Regions from separate parts of the Homo sapiens genome. Here region 2 is linked to region 1. Evidence: promoter capture Hi-C in 16 types of primary human blood cells and fetal thymus (Javierre and others, 2016). All regions are on one chromosome and are shown on one strand. Each heading gives the region's core, a stretch centred on a gene start or on the middle of the fragment in contact. The rest is flanking DNA. Distances are from core to core; before and after follow the strand shown. Region 1 holds the start of CCDC32 (coiled-coil domain containing 32). Region 2 has its middle 54 kb from the start of INO80.

What was found. Contacts are between HindIII fragments. The CHiCAGO score rates a contact against its expected background, and 5 or more counts as called.
Region 2: a contact is called between a fragment that was not itself captured here and the fragment with the promoter of CCDC32 in region 1, in 1 of 17 cell types (M2 macrophages). The highest score is 6.2, in M2 macrophages.

The regions. Positions count from the first base shown.
Region 1 is chr15:40,563,124-40,568,363 of GRCh38, forward strand. It overlaps CCDC32 (coiled-coil domain containing 32), which reads right to left and starts at 1,919. Exons shown (of 4, transcript NM_001080792.4): 1 at 1,853-1,919. RefSeq lists enhancers at 2,318-2,367, 2,847-3,141 and a silencer at 4,094-4,273. The HindIII fragment of the contact is 7,257 bases long and covers 1-2,349 here.
Region 2 is chr15:41,167,540-41,173,080 of GRCh38, forward strand. No RefSeq gene overlaps it. Among named protein-coding and RNA genes, the nearest start is that of INO80, 54 kb to the left of the region's middle. The HindIII fragment of the contact is 1,061 bases long and covers 2,241-3,301 here.

The sequences.
Region 1 (5,240 bases), core at 669-3,168:
AAGCCGAGGCAGTCAGATCATTTGAGGCCAGCAGTTCGAGACCAGCCTGGGAAACATGGCAAAATCCCATCTCTACTAAAAATACAAAAATTAGACAGGTGTGGTGGCACATGCCTGTAGTCCCAGCTACTCCGGAGGCTGAGGTAGGAGGATCACCTTAGCCCAGGAGATAGAGGCTGCAGTGAGTGGTGATCACGCCATTGCACTCCAGCCTGGGTGACATTGCGAGGCCCTGTCTCACAAATAAATAAATAAAATAAAAATAAAAATGGAATTCCTACAAGCCATACACAAAAGGCAGATACTGTGATTCCACTTATATAAGGTACCTGAGTAGTCAAATTCATAGATACAGAAAATAGGATGGTGGGAGCTGGGGGCTGGGAGGTAGAAAGAATGGGGAATTACTGTTTAATGGGTACACAGTTTCAGTTTGGGAAAATGAAAAAGTTCTGGAGGTGGATGGTAGTTATGGTTGCACAACAATGTGAACACCACTGAATCATACACACAAAAATAGTTAAAATGGTCAATTTTATGCTACATATATTTTAACACACACACACACACACACACACACACACAAATCTGTAGGGCATTTCCAGGTTGGACAACCAGCCTGCACTTTTCTCCAAAGATCTCCAAAATGCAACAGTTCTATCTCCAGTCAATTAAATTCTGTTTTTTTTTCTTTCTTTCTTTCTTTTTTTTTTTTGAGACAGAGTCTCGCTCTGTCGCCCAGGCTGGAGTGCAGTGGCGCTAACTTGGCTCACTGCAACCTCCGCCTCCCGGGTTCACGCCATTCTCCTGCCTCAGCCTCCCAAATAGCTGGGACTACAGGCACTCGCCACCACGCCCGGCTAATTTTTTGCATTTTTTAGTAAAGACGGGGTTTCACCGTTTAGCCAGGGTGGTCTCGATCTCCTGATCTTGTGATCCGCCCGCCTCGGCCTCCCAAAGTGCTGGGATTACAGGCGTGAGCCACCGCGCCCGGCCCCTAAATTCTGTTTTCAACAGAACACAGACTAAAGGTCTTTCCACAGTTCCATATACATGAAGATCCTGCTTGGTAAAAAGTGTCTGTCAGAGAGTACTGTTACAATGCAAGGGCTGTGTGCTCAGCGCATGCAGTTCAGCCGTATGTCTCATGCTCTTATTTTAATACAATCACTGAAAGGTAGGTATTTTCACCATTTTACAGATGAAAAAACAAGTTCAGAAGGGTAACTTGCTCTAGGGCACATTACTGATATGTGGGGAATCCTTGACAGGAAAACCAGATCTGTGCTGCTCCAGAATCCATGTTTTTATCAAATACCATCCTGCTTGTTTGGAAAATATAACGAAAGCAGCCCAAGCACGGGCAGGTAGGAAAAGCTACGCAAAGAGCCTGGAGGCTTTTATAACTATCTAGGCATATGAGACAGGCTGACACCTTCTTTCAAGAGGAGACTTAGAAATCAGGAAGGCTGCCTGAGGCAAGGTCTGAATAATGCCAGGAGACAGAGCCCAGCCAGCGTAAAGGCCGGAAGTAAAAGGGACAGCTATGACACGGCGGTCCTGGGTGAACTGATGTCTAGCGCTACAGTGAACCCCCAACCCGAATTCGTCTAAAGCCACCCAAAACCAAAACTTTGCTCACACCAGAGCCCCGCATGGCCCCTTACCCCAGGGCAGGGCGTCCAGAACCACGCAGGAAATTCCGGCGTCCAGATCCCAGGCCTCAGTCGCTCAGGTCTCTAGGGCTGTCTGGACGGGATGAATCAGGTCCCAAGGCCTCTATGTGGTATTCCGGGGCCGGGCCAGAGTGGGAGATCCAAAACGCTGGGCACCCCAGCCCCTCCTCACTTACCGTAACAGCTGCCCAGTAAACGCTTGGCTCAGCTCTGTCGCCTGTAGCCCGGAGGAAATCGGGAGGGGCGGAGTCCCCTAGTGACGGAGCCCAGGAGTCCTCCAACTACCTTCCCACCCGACGATGTTCTGTGCGTCGATTGGTCGAGAGGAGCTCAGCGTGGTGAAGAAGTGAGGAGCAGCAAGAGGCGAGCGGTGGACGGGGCTCTGGTTGCCGGGAAACGGTGGAGTCACGTGCCCTGAGCATTGCCCCTCCCCTCCCGAGGGCCAGGTTGATTCCTTGCAGATCCAGGGTTCCAGTCCCTGCTTGGATAGGGAAGTCGTTTCCAAGACTTTTGACTTTTCCTAGTCGCCGGAGCCAGTTCACCTCCTCCACAACTTTCTCTGTCGGTGTTTGTCTTCTAAAAATTTCACCCCTTCGTTACCCAAATTAGAGCACTTCGGCGGCTTCTTTCCTTACTCTCCCAGGAGACTCGTGTCTCATTCATCAAATTATGAAGCTTTCCTTCATTCATTTAGTCAATAGATACCAAGCACCTGCTGTGTTCTAAGCATTGTGTTAAGCGTGAAGTTAAGACACATATGACTTGATATAAGTCCTGGAGATCCTTACAGCTTAGTAGTGTAGGAAGGGGGTCCGCCATGGAGGCATAAAAGTTTACAAATAACAGTAAACAGTGATAGACAGCCGGGCGCGGTGACTCACGCCTGTAATCCCAGTACTCTAGGAGGCCGAGGCAGGTGGATCACCTGAGGTCAGGAGTTCGAGACCAGCCTGGGTGAAACATGGTGAAACTCTGTCTCTACTAAAAGTACAAAAATTAGCTGAGCATGGTGGCACATGCCTGGAATCCTAGCTATTCGGGAGGCTCAGGCAGGAGAATCGCTTGAACCGGGAAGGCAGAGGTTGCAGTGAGACAAGATCGCACCACTGCATTCCAACCTGGGCAACAGAGCAAGACTGTCTCAAAAAAAAAAAAGGAGGGGGGCGTTGAGGATTATAGAGTATATGATGGAAGTGTGGCCAGAGTACATAAAGGAGAGAGTGGTCATAAGAAGTGTGTGTCAGAATGCTTTGTTGTTGTAGTTGTTAAAGGAGATGACCTTTGATATCCTTCAGGGGATAGATACCAGCTTGTTCATTGAGATCGACCCCTCCCCATCCCCAGCTTCCAGGATCAACACCAGTTACTCTCTCCCAAGAAACACGTGATGAAAGACATCAGCCAACCATCAGTAGCCAAGTAACTTGGCTGAGGAAATAGTTCTCACTCCAGCCTGGGTGACAGAGCAAGACTCCGTCTCAAAAAAAAAAAGAAAGAAAGAAAAAGAAAACAACAACAACAAAAACAACATAGTTTTAGGATTACAGATGTGAGCCACTGCGCCCAGCTAAAATACAATTTAAAATTCAGTTCCTGGCCGGGCTTGGTGGCTCATGCCTGTAATCCCAGAATTTTGGGAGGCTGAGGGGGTGTGGATCACCTGAGATCAGCAGTTCGAGACCAGCCTGGCCAACATGGTGAAACCCTGTTTCTACTAAAAATACAAAAATTAACTGGGCGTGGAGGCGCATGCCTGTAATCCCAGCTACTCAGGAGGCTGAGGTAGGAGAACTACTTGAACCCAGGAGGCGGAGGTTGCGCCACCACATCCGGCCTGTAATCCTAACACTTTGGGAGGCCAAGGTGGATGGATTGTTTGAGCCCAGTTTGAGACCACCCTAGGCAATGTGGCAAAACCTCGTCTCTACTAAAAATACAAAAAATTAGCCAGTCATGGTGGCACATGTCTGTCGTCTCAGCTACTAGGGAGCCTGAGGTGGGAGGATCACTTCAGTTTGGGAAGTCAAGGCTGCAGTGAGCCAAAATCGTGCCACTGCACTCCAGCCTGGGTGATGGGAGTGAGATCTTGTTTCAAAACTTGTTAAAATTTTAATTAATTTAAATTTAATTAGCCACATGTGGCTATTGTACAGCACATGGCTAATGGTGATCCTATTGTATAGCACAGGATTGGAGAATATTACATAGTTCACAGAACCTCAAGGTGAGTGGAGAGTCAGGCTTTAGGTCTATACAGCCAGGGACAGTATCTGAATCTCACTGAGAGACTGCTCAGGGAACACCCCACAGCCACTGAACATCTATAGCTGGCATTATTCGTCGATTGGGTACTTGACACAAGAACCTCCCCGACTGTTGGCCTCCCAGATTAGATGCCTCCAATGCTACCTTGTTAGACACGGATTTCACACTGAGCCTGCTTCCGCGGCTGTGTGCCTCTGAACCAAAGCCTCTGTCTAAGAGATAGAGCCCAGGTCAAATGCCTATGTCCAAGCTGCAAGAGAGTGTGGGAAGGCTCTGGCTTCTACCTTTTGGGGGCAGTAATGAAATGTGAGAAATTCCCCACCCAAAAGAAGGGTGTTCGGAAGATGCTGGATGTTTACAGAATATGACAAATGTCTACTCTACATGGTCTATGCCAGTGCTTCTCAAGCTTTAATATGCAGAAAAATCACCTGAGGATCATGTTAAAGTGCAGATTCTCATTTAGTAGGTCAGAAGGGGAGGAGGAACAAGATTCTGCTATGTTTTCTGTCTCCACAGTTTTGCCAGGCACTAGTCCAAGTATTTTACTTGAATTAACTAATTTAATTCTCCCACCCCAATCCTATGGAGCAAAGAGGCTAGCTAAGAATACATACTTTTCTTTTGGATAAGGTTCTGCTTTCACTGTAAATATCTTAATGAAATGATGCACTTGAGAGATGATGTCCCTCCTGTGAAGTAGTTTGGTTCTAACATACCCCACAATCAATGGAGAATTCTACCTCTTATTTCTGGAGGTAGTCAGGAATCAGACTTTTCAGCATATGGAGTTCTGCAGCTGTGGATACCTCAGCTGCAGTCCCTCAGTTAGTTTGGTGAGACTAATGACTTGAAGAAGGAATTTAGCTAAAAAAGATTTCCCTTTCTCCTCTCCAGAATACAAATGCCTAGGATAAGAATTAGACTGTCTTTTTTTTTTTTTTTTTTTTGGCAAACTAACATTGAAATGCCTCCTTATTTGGAAGAATCCCACTCTGGATACCAAAGAGGGTTAGATTCTTGGCCGGGCGCGGTGGCTTACGCCTGTAATCCCAGCACTCATAATATAAAAATTAGCCAGGCGTGGTGGTGCGTGCCTGTAGTCCCAGCCACTCAGGAGGCTGAGGCAGAAGAATGGCTTGAACTCAGGAGGCGGAGGTTGCAGTGAGGTGAAATCGCTCCACTGCACTCCAGCCTGGGCGACAGAGCAAGACTCCGTCTCAAAAAAAAAAAAAAAAAAAAAAAAAAAGAGGGTTAAATTCTTCCATCTCCAGGCACCCTGGAAGTGAGGGCTCAGAG
Region 2 (5,541 bases), core at 1,521-4,020, 610 kb after region 1:
TAATAAGAACCCCATCTCTAAAAAACAAACAAAAAACTATACAGCATATTTTAAAAATCACACTGTATCTGAAAATGGTGATCCAGAATGACCAACACCAAAACATAGTCTAACAAAATCATTTGACTTGAAAGAAAAAGAGGCCAAGGTGGGCAGTTCGCTTGGGTCCAAGAGTTCGAGACCAGCCTGGGCAACATGGCGAGACTCTGTCTCTACTAAAAATACAAAAAAATAGCTGGGTATGGTGGTGCACGCCTGTGGTCCCAGCTACTGAAGTGGGAGGATCACTTAACCCCAGAGGGTGGAGGTTGCAGTGAGCTAAGATTTCGCCACTGCACTCTATCCTGGGTGATAGAGTGAAACACTGTCTCAAAAAAAAAAAAATTATATCAGTCGGGCGCGGTGGCTCACGCCTGTAATCCCAGCACTTCGGGAGGCCAAGGCAGGTGGATCACCTGAGGTCGGGAGTTCAAGACCAACCTGACCAAGATGGTGAAACCCTGGCTCTACTAAAAATACAAAATTAGCCAGGCGGGGTGGTGCATGCCTGTAATCCCAGCTACTTGGGAGGAGGCAGGAGAATCGCTTGAACCCAGAAGGCGGAGGTTGTAGTGATCTGAGATCAAGCCATTGCACTCCAGGCTAGGCAACAAGAGTGAAACTCTGTCTCAAAAAAAAAAAAAATTATATCTTAGTAAAACCGTTAAAAATAATTTGTGGTTGATATAACTTACAATGAGAGTTCATCAAACTACAAATGAGGTTTCTGGTTTACATAATACTATTCTGATTTTCTTCCTATTTGTCTTCTCCTTCTTGGTCTCTGTGTGTATCTCTTCCTGTTTACTTTTTTTTTTTTTTGAGAGGGAGTCTCGCTCGTCGCCCAGGCTGGAGTGTGCAGTGGCGCAATCTCGGCTCACTGCAAGCTCCGCCACCTGGGTTCACGCCATTCTCCTGCCTCAGCCTCCCGAGTAACTGGGACTACAGGTGCCCACCACACCCGGCTAACTTTTTGTATTTTTAGTAGAGATGGGGTTTCACTGTGTTCGCCAGGATGGTCTTGATCTCCTGATCTCGTAATCCGCCCACCTCAGCCTCCCAAAGTGCTGAGATTACAGGCGTGAGCCACTACACCCGGGCTTTTACCTTTTTTTTTTTTTTTTGAAAAGGAGTTTTACTCTTGTTGCCCAGGCTGGAGTGCAATGGCGAGATCTCAGCTCACCACAACCTCCGCCTCCCGGGTTCAAGTGATTCTCCTGCCTCAGCCTCCTGAGTAGCTGGGATTACAGGCATGCACCACCACACCCAGCTAATTTTGTATTTTTAGTATAAAGACAGGGTTTCTTAGTGTTGGTCAGGCTGGTCTCAAACTCCAGACGTCAGGTGATCCACCCACCTCAGCCTCCCAAAGTGCTGGGATTACAGGCATCAGCCACAGCGCCCAGCCTTGCCCTATTTTAGGAGTGTGATCTTTCTCATTCCTTTTCTCTTACTCTCTATACTCAAACCTGGAAAATACTGTATATGCTCATCACTTCAAGGGCCATTTACATCTCCCAATCTCTCTAGCTCAGATCTTTCTCCTTCTCTATATTCACATATATCTGACTGTCTAGTAGACACATCCATGTAGGAATTCCAAATGTATTCTAAATGAGAAACATGTAAAATTCAACTATCAAATCACAGTTCTGCAAACTATCCTCTCAATATATTCTCTCTGTAAATGGCACCAACTTCCAAACAGATGCCCAAGTCAGAAACCTGGGAGCCAGCCAAGACTCCTTTCCACACTTTACCATCCATATTCAATTGGTCATTTGGTTCATTATGCTTCCTAAAATCCTGTATTTGTGTATTCCTCTCCATCCTACCAACTGTATCCCACTGTATCCCTCCCAAATTCAAGCATTCACATCTTCCACCTTAATCAATGCAAGAGTTTTCATACAAGTCTTCCTCATATTATTCTTGCTCCTTTTCAATCCATCCTACAGCTTAAACCAGGACGATCTATCATCTACATTTCTGGTTGCAGTGAGCTGAGATCACATCACTGCACTCCAGTCTGGGCGAAAATAGCGAAAGTCTGTTTCAGAAAAAATAATAATTATATATATATATATATATAATCTACATTTCCGATCATCTCACTTCCTTGTTCATAACTGGCACTCACTCTGCCAGTTGAGTTGTTCCTGCTAACTAGAGTTCTGCCATAGCCCTCTATCCTATTTCCAAGCTTAGTTTTTTAGCCTTCTAGTCAGTTCTGTGAGCCACTCATCTTTCCAGTAAATTCCCTTCTTGTTTATATTACCCAAGTGATATAGTTTGGCCCTGTGTCCCCACTCAGGGGTTGGAGGTGGGGCCTGGTGGGAGGTGACTGGATCATGGGGTGGTTTCTAATGGTTTAGCACCATCCGCCTAGTGCTGTCTTGTGATAGAGTTCTCCCAAGATCTGTTTTTTTGAAAGTGTGTAGCACTTCCCCTTTTGCTCTCTTCCTCCTGCTCCAGCAATGTAAGACATGCTTGCGTCCCCTTTGCTTTCCACCAGGATTGTAAGTTTCCTGAGGCCTCCCAAGATACAGACGTCTATACAGCCTGTACAATCCCGTACAGTCTTAGCTGGCTCCTGGGTTTCTGACTTGGGCATCTGTTTGGAAGTTGGTGCCATTTACAGAGAGAATACATTTAGTTTGAAGCATTATGATTTGATAATGATAACTTATAGAGAAAAGAGATTTAATTGGCTTCAGGCAACCAATTACTTAGTCTCAGGTATATCTTTTTTTTTTTTTTTTTTTGGAGATGGAGTCTTGCTCCTTCACCCAGGCTGGAGTGCCATGGTGTGATCTCAGTTCACTGCGACCTCCGCCTCCTGGATTCAAGCAGTTCTTCTGCCTCAGCCTCCTGAGTAACTGTGACTACAGGTGCGTGCCACCATGCCTGGCTAATTTTTGTATTTTTAGTAAAGACAGGGTTTCACCATGTTGGCCAGGCTGGTCTCAAACTCCTTACCTCAGGTGATCCGCCCACCTTGCCCTCCCAAAGTGTTGAGATTACAGGCGTGATCCACCGCACCCAGCCCAGGTATGTCTTTATAGCAGTGTGAGAACAGTGTGAGAAGGGACTAACACACCGAGTCAGTTGTTTTGCTTATGACCAAAAAACTGTAACAGATACATGGACCTTGTCTATTTCCTAGCCTTATCTCTCACTATCATACCGTATTTTTTCCCCTCTTTCAATGGTGAAATCCTCATAGTTCTCTTACTCAAAGTGCACCCTTTCCTCTGAAGAAAGCTTTTGACACGGATCTCAGTTCCAGGACAAGTGCTATCTCCTTTCCAGGGCTACTCTGCCTTTCCCAACATGCGTACAATGCACCAGTACACCTTGAACATAACTATTATTTCGGTTATAATTTTGTGTACATATCGCCCACTAGACTCGAAGTCCTTTGAGAGTAGGGATTGTGTGTTTTTTTCTCTGATTCCCCAATCTAGTCCAGTGCCTGGCTTCAAAACGGCCCTCCAAAATGTTTGCTAACGAATGCACAAAACAAATGAAGCCTGCGGGTGCGGTAGCTCACACCTGTAATCCCGGCACTTTGGGAAGGTAAGGTGGGTGGATCATTTGAGGTCAGGAGTTTGAGACCAGTCTGGCCAATATGGTGAAACCCCGTCTCTACTAAAAATATAAAAATTAGCTGGGCATGGTGGTGAGCGCCTGTAATCCCAGCTACTCAGGAGGCTGAGGCAGGAGAATCACCTGAACCTGGGAGGCAGAGGTTGCAGAGAGCCCAGATCGCACCACTGCACTCCAGCGTGGGTGACAGAGCAAGACTCCATCTCAAAAAACAAACAAACACACAAACAAAAAAACAAATGAAGCTTACCATGTGGGACACTGTATAAGGCAGCTTTACGGCCACGGCTCAGTGTTCTCTATTTTTGTTGTTGTTTTTGAGACGGAGTCTTGCTCAGTCGCCCAGGCTGGAGTGCAGTGGCGCGATCTCGGCTCACTGCAAGCTCCGCCTCCCGGGTTCACGCCATTCTCCCGCCTCAGCCTCCCGATTAGCTGGGACCACAGGCGCCCGCCACCACGCCTGGCTAATTTTTTGTATTTTTAGTAGAGACGGGGTTTCACCATGTTAGCCAGGATGGTCTCAATCTCCTGACCTCGTGATCCGCCCGCCTCAGCCTCCCAAAGTGCTGAGATTATAGGCGTGAGCCACCGTGCCCGGCCCAGTGTTCTCTATTTTAAAGGCAAGTATGAACACCTACTAGACGTACATGTAATATTTTCATTTATATATTTTTTCATTTAAGTGGGCCTTCTCAGAAGGAAGTGCTGAGGAGGAATTTCCTTTTCTCCACATAAAGATTTTGCTATTTCAATGGCATCCCAACAAGTTACACAATAAAAAATTTCTTTCCCTTAATTCCCTCATTCCTGGAACTTGCCATTTTGGCTCTTCCTAAGGAATGTTTTCATTAGAATTTGTTTCCATTACAAAGTTCTTATTTAAAATACTCAGGGTTTAGCCATCAGGTGCCTTTCAAGTTATAAACAATAATGTACTTGGGGAATTGGAGAATTCCAGAATGTGGAAGTGTCTCATCCTAATTAGACAGGCTACTATTGCAATATGGAGAGATCAACAGCAAGAGGCTGAAGTTACTGGCCCTCTGGTTTCTCTGGCTTGCATTGCAATTAAATGCCTTCGATCAACTCTTCCAAATCTACTAGTTTACACTCTGGTTCATTTGGGAAAAAGAGGAACAAAAATTTCTTTTTTGTCCAGGTGCAGTGTCTCACGCCTGTAATCCCAGCACTATGGGAGGTCAAGGCGGGCAGATCACCTGAGGTCAGAAGTTCAAGCCTGGCCAACACAGTGAAACACCGTCTCTTAATAAAAATACAAAAATTAGCCAGGCGTGGTGGTGGATGCCTGTAATCCCAGTTACTTGGGAGATTGAGGCAGGAGAATCGCTTGAACCTGGGAGGCAGAGGTTGTAGTAAGACCAGATTGGGCCACTGCACTCCGGCCTGGGCGAAAGAAAAAAAAATTAATTTTTTAATTTTTATTTTTTAATTTAATTAATTAATTTATTTATTTATTTTTGAGACGGAGTCTCGCTCTGTCGCCCAGGCTGGAGTACAGTGGCGCGATCTCGGCCCACTGCAAGCTCCACCTCCCGGGTTCACGCCATTCTTCTGTCTCAGCCTCCTGAGTAGCTGGGACTACAGGCGCCCGCCACCATGCCTGGATAATTTTTTGTATTTTTAGTAGAGATGGGGTTTCACCGTGTTAGCCAGGATGGTCTCGATCTCCTGACCTCGTAATCTGCCCGCCTCGGCCTCCCAAAGTGCTAGGATTACAGGCGTGAGCCACTGCACCCAGCCAATTTTTTAATTTTTAAATTTTGGATTCAGGGGGGTACATGTATAGGTTTGTTACCTGTTATATTACATAATGGTGAGGTTTGGGCTTCTATTGTACCCAACAGGTAATTTTTTTAACCCTTCTTCCCCCAC